2 separate regions of the Homo sapiens genome follow, and region 2 is linked to region 1. The links are contacts of gene promoters, found by promoter capture Hi-C in human tissues and cell types (Jung and others, 2019). All regions are on one chromosome and are shown on one strand. Each heading gives the region's core, a stretch centred on a gene start or on the middle of the fragment in contact. The rest is flanking DNA. Distances are from core to core; before and after follow the strand shown.

Region 1 (4,273 bases), core at 1,276-3,775:
GCCATCGGCTGCTTACCAGTAGACCCCAGACTGGCATTTCAGGGGAATCCAGGCTGTAGGGAATGTCTAAGAAGGCCCCAGAGGGGATTTGCTGGTTTGCAAAATTTCAATTTTGTGGGTGAGGGAATCCATTCTGGAGGTTTCATATCCCACTGGGGAGACAGTCCTATCCTTTGCTGCCCTTTTTATGTTCTGGGTGTTTTATTTTTAAATTTCAAATCTTGGCCTTGATTTAAGGAATGTCCTTAACTTTCTTGGCATTGCTGAGGCACAAAAGCAGCAAACTACAGCCATTGAGAGGCTAATAAAGGAACCTCAATGCCATAGTCACCTTCCTGCGCATCCCCACAGCACTTCTGGGTCCCGCTCCCCCAACCCAGTACCAGAAAAGGCCCAGGGCCTTTGCATGCTTGGGTCTGGTGTGGCAGGGATGCATTCAGAGTGGCTGAACACAGAGGCCGAGGTTGGAGGTACTATGGGATGGTATGGAGAGGAGGCTCAGACAATTCCATTTTCTGGAGCACACTTTCTGCAGCTCCCTTTTACATACACTTCTTTTTGAGAACCAAATACTCAAGAACTCTTACCTCATTCCATTTTCTCCTTTGACTTTGGCCTTGACTCTTTCTTAGTGGATGTGTACTCTAAACCCAATGAATGTATTCCGAATCAAGCAAGAGAGAAGCTTCAAACATCCTCTTCAGCCTCTCTGCCCAGCTCAGCCTCCCTTGCTCGCTCTTCCTTCCAGAGACCTCCAAGGACAAGGGCAGGGCTGATCTGACTCTCACGGAGACAGCCTCAGGTGTAAAGCTAAGGATGCTAACTTGGGCCTTTTCCATGGGAAGAGCTGAAAGGAACCTGAGAATTCCAATTAGGCTTAAACTAATGAGCTGGAAACTTTGGGGAAACCACTGCAGCAATGAGGGAAGAGCGTGATCATCCTCGATTTAATTAGCGCTGGAAAAACTTGGGGTCCAGCTGGTAGCACGAGGACGGACGCTGTTCAGGGGGCGCAAAGTTTCTGAAAGTGTCAGAAGGGGGATTCCCCTGGTGGTGTACGGAGACACGCTACGGAACAAACACGGACTCCTTCTTCATCTTAAGTGGGGAGAAGGGAAGACCCTAAATGGGGAACGGTGAGCCAGAATGAAGTCTGGAGTCCCTCTTCCCCCATCTGCCCTCCTCACGGGATGGATGGAGTCTGAGACTATATGAGAGGAAAGCAACCCTTCAGGGAACTCTATTGTCTATCGGGGCCTGCACTATCCCCAGGCCAGGTCGTCCTTGATCATTTCTGCCTACTCTTTGTTGGGCAGCCTCTGTTGCTAATAAGGAAAAAGGAGAGAAACCACCTGCTGCTGTCAGAGGCCACAGACCACCCGCTGGCCTTCCTGACTCTACCCTCCAGCCACACGCGGGACCCTGGGCACATAGGTAGCAGGAAGAGCGAAGTAGGGGTGGGTAGCTGTGTGTATCCTGGCGTGGGGTCCTCCTCACTCCCGAAGCCCGAGGGTCCTGGGGAGCTCAGCCTGTGGAATCCAGTTGACAGCTGGCCACTCCTCCCCTCCCCACTGGGGGCTCTTTGGGGAAAAAAACGGCCTGACCGGGGCGCCCCGCCGTCCTCCCAGTGTACCCCACCGCTCTCGGCTGGGGGCGCAGCACCTTGGAGAGAGGCGCCTGGCCCCGCGCCTGGGCTGGGGGCGCTCTACCTTGCGCCCTGGGGGTCAGGGGCGCTTGCCGGGCCGCTGCCGAGGGGCCCTGCCCACCCCTGCCCAGCCCGGAGCCCAGGCGAGCCAGCGCGGCGAGCCTCCTCCCCTCCCGCCTGGGTCGTCCTGAGTCCGCGCCCGCTCCAGTTGCTGCAGCTGCTGCTGCTGGCGGCTGCGGGGAGCGCGGGGCGCGCGCCGAAGAGGCTTGGGCGGCGAGGACGGGGACGAGGAGGAGTCGGAGGCGGCAAGGAGGAAGAGCGAGCGGAGGCCGAGGGGCTCAGCGGCGTGGCGACAGGACTAGGGGGTCCCGAGAACATGGGCTAGCAGGCGGCCACGGGCCGGCGGCCGGACGCGGTGAACCTGCCGCGGCCGGGCGCGCACTGGCGCGGCGAGCCGGAGCCGAGCGCAGCCGGGGGAGGAGGGCTGGCGCAGGGGCGCCCGGGCGGAGGGGGCCGATTATCCATTATTAACGAGTTACCACCTAATAAGCGGAGAGCGGCTCGTTAGCCGCGCGGGAGGCGCTCGGGGAAGGGGGTCACCGGCCGAGCGCAGCGCACACCCGTGGCGCACGGCGGGCGGCGCGGCGCCGAGGACACCCGGGACCGCGCGCGGAGCCGGGGCGGGCCCGGGGGCGGCGCAGACCCCGGGCGCGGGCGGCCCGCGGCGCCCCCTGGCTCTCGGCGCTCGGGGCCAGCGCAGCCCGGGGCGAGCGGGGCGCGGGCCGGGGAGGGGGAGCTGCCCGCGCACTCCATCCCCCTCCCCCCCGGGCGGGCGGCGGCGGCTCGCTGTATATATCTCGGCGCACCCCGCCAGGTCGCGCACAGCGCCCCGAGCCCAGGCGCCTCCCCGCCCCCCTCCCGCGCTCCGCGGCGGCGGCGGCGGCGGCAGCAGTAGCAGCAATATGGCTGTTGATGGGTGTTTGGGGTGGCGCTGGCGGCGGGAGGAGCTCCCCCGAGCCCCTGCGCCGGCTGCCCGTTGCTAGCTATGGCAAATGGTGGCGGCGGCGGCGGCGGCAGCAGCGGCGGCGGCGGCGGCGGCGGAGGCAGCAGTCTTAGAATGAGTAGCAATATCCACGCGAACCATCTCAGCCTAGACGCGTCCTCCTCCTCCTCCTCCTCCTCTTCCTCTTCTTCTTCTTCCTCCTCCTCTTCCTCCTCGTCCTCGGTCCACGAGCCCAAGATGGATGCGCTCATCATCCCGGTGACCATGGAGGTGCCGTGCGACAGCCGGGGCCAACGCATGTGGTGGGCTTTCCTGGCCTCCTCCATGGTGACTTTCTTCGGGGGCCTCTTCATCATCTTGCTCTGGCGGACGCTCAAGTACCTGTGGACCGTGTGCTGCCACTGCGGGGGCAAGACGAAGGTAACGCGCGCCCCGGGCGCCCGCCCTCTGCGCCAGCCCCACCGCTTCTCGGCGTCCCCTGCAGCCCACCTCCTCGCTCCGCGCCGCGCCGTGCCTCCCTCCATCCCCGCCTGCCTTCCCCTCGCCGCCTTCCCTTCCCTCGGCTCTCCCGGTGCTCTCGGATCGGGGCAGCGGGCGGCGCGCCGGGGGTGAGGAGTTGCCCCCAGCCAGTGCGCTCCGGGACGCGGACGCTCAATCCTGTCCTCTTGTTTATTGTAGGGTTGTTGGCGGCTGCGGCTGGGGCCGGGGTCGGGGACTCACAGGCTCGGGTGCCGTGGTGCGGGGTGGGGACAGCCAACTCAGCGGGGACGGAGGAAGCTGGGGGCAGCTGGGTGCGTGTTTTGCACCGCTCACCTGCCGGGGCTCGGCTCCTGGCGGTGGGCGAGAGGGAGCACATCCGCCCATACTTTAGGAACCTGTTGGGGAGATGAGTTCGTGGGGTCAGAAAGAAGGGAAAAATCCTTTGGGCAAGGGAGAGAATAATTTTGCACAAGGGAATCCCGGGGGAGGAGCATGGCCCGAGATAACAGGGGGACTTCGAGGGGCGAGAGAAGTTGGGGAGATCCATCCCACTATTGGGGGTAGCCCACGGGGCTGCCACTTTTGGAATGTGTCGAGGTCGCATATCTGATGTAACCTCCCACTCCGTCCCTTAGGTGCTCTAGTGGAACATACCCCAAGTTCTTCGGCCTCTGTTCCTTTGCCCCCAGGCCACCCACTTTGGGTCCCCGGAAATGCCACCAGCAGCGCGGAGCTGGAGCGGGAGTCCGCCTGAGGCCGCGGTTTTACGCGGAGCGTCTTCCCTGGCGCTCGAGGTGGCTAGATGTCGTCGGCTTTAGCTATTCCTGGTGCAGACGCCCACCGGCACTGAGGCTGGCGACACCTTCGATGTATGGTTGCTAGGCTCACTGCCTGGTCTGTAGTCGTGTCCCTAGAGATGTCTTCCCTTCCCCACAGCCACTGGCTGGAGTGGGGGACCCGACACTGATAGAAAACTGCAGAATAAAAAAGAAAGAACTGGAAAAAAGAGAGTGAGCCAGCTGCCTTCTTTCTGAGTAATTCCCATCCTAGGGGACTTCACGCGCGAACCGTTTTGGAGGGAAGGGAAATCCAGGGGAATAGTGCAGGGTAGATACACATTGCAGCCTCCACATGTTCACATCTTT
Region 2 (4,273 bases), core at 477-2,976, 490 kb after region 1:
TGAGACTTGCTAACTTGTTTTGGATTGGAAGAAATTAGTTTATGCCCATGACATCGCTTTATTCCAGACTGATTAGAAGCATAATGTACATGGCAGGGGCAGGGAGAAGGGGATGACAATCCATTCTTTGAAAGAGACTCTTCTCCCCTTAGGTTAAATAGATCGTCAAGTCCTTGCATGTCAAAAGCAGAGATGTGAATCACTGTCCTTCAGAAAGGGAAGAAAACACTTTAAGCAAGTGCAAAGTTCCCAGCTGTGCTAGGCACGATGGATTATACCCAAAGAAGTTGGACAGAGACCTTGACCTCAAGGATTTCATCGTCTATTTGAATAGAAATGATTTCTATATAACTGAATTAAGCCAGAGCAATAAAAATAGCATGATATTAGGTTCTAAAGTGAGTGTTGCAGGAAACAGAAGGAACTTCCAAATGTTGTTATTTACAGATTTCTACCTTGTGAAATGTAGAAGTACCTGTTCTCAAATTAAACATTCCTTCCTCATTTCAAGATGTCAGCTACATCAGAGGTTGACCAACTATGGCCTACAGGCTACATCTGGTCCATCACCTATTTTTGTAAGGAAAGTTTTACTGGAACGAGGCCAAGCTCATTCATTTTTGTATCATCTGTGGCTAGTTTTCTCACTCCAATGGCCGCATTGAGCACTTGCAATAGAGATTGTGCAGCTTACAAAGCCCAAAATATTTATGATCTGGCCCTTTACAGAAAAAAATTGGCAACCCCTGATTTAGATTATCCAGGTTGATCCTGGTGCTAATTTAGAGCTTCAGAATAAAACACAGCTGAGGTGTGCCTGGTAGCAAATTAATCCCCCCCAAAACAAGTACTTCATTTTCCTTAAATTAATGTTGAGCATCAGAATTAAACAGAGCTAAATCTCATGATACCTGAGGCCCTTGTGAAAATGTTTTTGCTGACCCAAGATTCAGTGTTATGCTTTCTGTCCTTACAGAGAGCTAAATCAAGAGTCCCCTTTTGGAAGGAGTACCTCTGTTCTTTGTAAACTGTAATTGAAGATATAACTCACCGTGTTCTTCAGTCTTTATTCAAAGCCGCTGGCACAAAAATTCTGCTTGAATTTAATTTTAGGATAGATTTGATCTCTGAATTGGCTTTATAGGTTTTCTCAGTTCACAATAGTCATAACCTAGTTGTTTCTCTCTTGCCATAGGTGACAGGCAATGCAGAGCCAATTTCAGAAGTGAGCTCAGTAGTAAACTCATGGCAGGTGCAGGATGAGGCAAGAGAGAGGCCTGGGTGCAAACATGAGGGTGGCTCATTCCCAGGGCTATGCAAAGGCAGGGTCAGTCCCAAAAGGAGCACCTCCTTACATGTTGTGCCTGAAGTGTCCCTTTCTCAGTCTTTTCTTGGTGGTGGCAGGTGCTGCCTGGCAATCCCCATCCCTTCTACTTTTAGATGGTGGGGGCCCTGTCCTGCTTTATCCTTGTATATGGCGCTTTTATTTTAACCATGTAAACTGATTCAGGTCCTCCCTGTAGTCAACAGAGATAAAAGTCTCAATAATCAAACCTGTGGGTACTTCAGTGACCAGGGACCACCATCTGTCCCCTGTGGGTCCAGACATCAGGCAGGAGGAAAAGTTGGGGCCATGTGTCAGCGTCCCAGCTGGGGCTCACCATGGGAAGTGGGATAAGGGAGGATTATTCCAGTTCTCTTCTTTGAGTTCAGGTTTTTATCTACGGGAAGAAGAGGGAGATTGGACGAGGTTAGATTCACTTGTCTCCAATGTCCTGCATGGGGTTCTGGGACAGACAATGCCTCAGAAATGGGAGGTCCAAGAGGATGGTGACTTTCACTGCTAGCTGATGATGAAAGGGAAAGGGATGAGGGAAGAATGGGCTGAATTAGAGGCTATTCCACCCCTCTGATGGTTAGCTTTCAGGGGGAAGGGAAGGAGGGAGGGAGGCTGGTGGGGTGGGAGACAAAGACGAATTGGAGATTAGGAAAGATTCTTTGGAATAGTCAAACCAGAGACCAAGCAAAGCATCTTTTTCCCTTGTAACTTGAGACCTGTGCAAATGACACAGGCTTCTAGTTCCCAAACTTAATAAGAGTAAGTGCGTGAAGAAGAGACCTGCAGACACTTAATTCAAACAGTCTAGAATTCTGGGAATAAGTTATAGTACAAGTTATATGTGGCTGGTTATAGATTCAGCCTTGATGTTTATGTTCCCTGTTTCAAGTCACACACATCAGATTACTCACTTGTCAGCTAAAAATAGGGCCATCACTGGCTTGCAAGTCGAGTTAGGTTTTATTTCTCTATGTGCTTCATTGTTCGTTCTTTTGTGCTCCCTCCTCTGTGCCTGGCCCCCTCTGCCATGCCCAGGTGGCTTCACAGTCCCCCTTCCCCATGGTCAATACTTCTTTCTAACTGAGGGATAAATGACTCTGAAAAGGAAATGTATTTCAATGGGGACCAATCCATTACACCCGAGAGAGAGAGGCCAAGTGCAGGGACTTCTGGAGGAGACCAGGAATGAGTGATTATGTAGCATATTCTGTGTGAAAGGCATTTTAAAACACACGTAGATCAATTTATTGTCACAGCCCCTGAGAGGCATAATTCTCATCTTTTTTCTTTCCTTCTTTCTTTCTTTTTTTTTTTTTTTTTTTTTTTTTTTTTGAGATGAAGTCTTGCTCTGTCACCCAGGCTGGAGTGTAGTGGCACCATCTCCGCTCACTGCAACCTCCACCTCCTGGGTTCAAGTGATTCTCCTGCTTCAGCCTCCCCAGTAGCTGGGACTACAGGTGCAGGCCACCACGCCTGGCTAATTTTTGTATTTTTTAGAAGAGACGAAGTTTTGCCATGTTGACTAGGCTGGTCTCAAACTCCTGGCCTCAACCTATCTGCCTGCCTTGGCCTCCCAAAGTGCTGGGATTACAGGCATGAGCCACCGCGCCCAGCTTCTCATCTTTATTTTTTACATGCAGTCATAGACATTCAGGTTTCATATAAGCAGCCAGGGTCTCTCAGTGCATCAGGAGCAGAGCCAGGGTCAAAACTTACATCCATTTGAACCCAAGGCACAGTTTTTTCTTACTGGGTAATGCTGCTGTCTTATGGGGGAATTTTAGGCATCAATAAACAAGGAAGAGAAGAAGGCTAATTTCTTTTGGGGGCTGGTGGATCGTCCCCTAAAATTATGTAGATAGTCATCTTTCCTATCTTAGCTAAATACAAATGTAGATTGTAAACAGCTCCTCAAGACTGTACATTTTTTGAGGATAGATTTAGAGCAAATCACATTTGTATCCCCAATATGGTTAGCCCAGTATCTGGCTCCTAGTAATAATTATAGCAAGCACTGACTGAACATTTCCTATGTGCCAAGGACAATTTTAACCGTTATAGATATTAATTCATTCCTCACAATAACCCCATGAGGTAGGTTACTATTACTGTTCCCATTTTATAGTTGGGGAAACTGAGATACTTTGAGTTGAAGGAACTTGCTAATGCTCACTCCCAATTAATGGCAGAGCTGGGATTTGAATCCTATAACACTGGGCCCAGATTCCGTCTCTTTTCTAAATAGGTACTCCATGAAAATATGTTGTTGAATAAATGTACTATTACTTTGTACAGGGTTGAGGGAATTAGATATGACTTCACTGAAGAGGTCAATTTCGTCTGAGTTCATTTCTTGGTCAATATTTTTAAATGAATGAATGGATTCCAGTGTCCTTTTTCTCTGACCACTTCTGTCTCAGAAAAACAAGCCTAATGCAGAGGAAGAGGAGCAAGGGAGTTTTCCCAGTATTGGTAGATGAAGATCTATGACTTCAGAGACAAATGAAGCCCTCCTAGAATTCTTTCAGGCAGACAATACCAGGTGGCACCATGGGACACACTGGTGGGAGGAGTGCAAAATGAGGATACAGTTTATGACAGTTTTTTTTGGAATAGACACATGTCCAGAGAAATGGGCCCACATTCACTTGTATGTGTGCATACGTTTGCATAGAATTCTCTTTTAAATATTTCAAATTTATAAGAAATCCTTTCTTGTGATGAACAGATTTATCTTGAAAAGTGTTTCCCATTTTAAAAGTCAGAGACTTGAGGCAGGGTTGGAATAACTTCCAAGAGCATGTGGCTCGTATGTGGAGATGCCAGGAACCAAATCCCCTGCTGCTGGTTCCAGGGACCACATTTATTGCCACACCTACAGGGTCCTAGGAAGAGGCTGGCAGATGTGCCCCATGGAGATAGGTGGGGTTTTTA

Evidence for each region. The method cuts DNA at HindIII sites, captures the fragments that hold promoters and counts their contacts. A contact is called where the count stands out against the background at its distance.
Region 2: a fragment that was not itself captured here is called in contact with the fragment with the promoter of KCNMA1 in region 1 in 2 of the 25 tissues and cell types used here (aorta and dorsolateral prefrontal cortex).

What each region holds. Positions count from the first base shown.
Region 1 is chr10:77,636,060-77,640,332 of GRCh38, reverse strand. KCNMA1 (potassium calcium-activated channel subfamily M alpha 1) reads left to right here and starts at 2,525. Exons shown (of 28, transcript NM_001161352.2): 1 at 2,525-3,068. The coding sequence starts at 2,691. The HindIII fragment of the contact is 5,846 bases long and covers 269-4,273 here.
Region 2 is chr10:77,145,100-77,149,372 of GRCh38, reverse strand. The region is part of intron 5 of KCNMA1 (potassium calcium-activated channel subfamily M alpha 1); the gene reads left to right. It overlaps KCNMA1-AS2 (KCNMA1 antisense RNA 2), which reads right to left. Exons shown (of 3, transcript NR_120654.1): 2 at 1,555-1,721. Among named protein-coding and RNA genes, the nearest start is that of KCNMA1-AS2, 6.4 kb to the right of the region's middle. The HindIII fragment of the contact is 9,011 bases long and covers 1-4,273 here.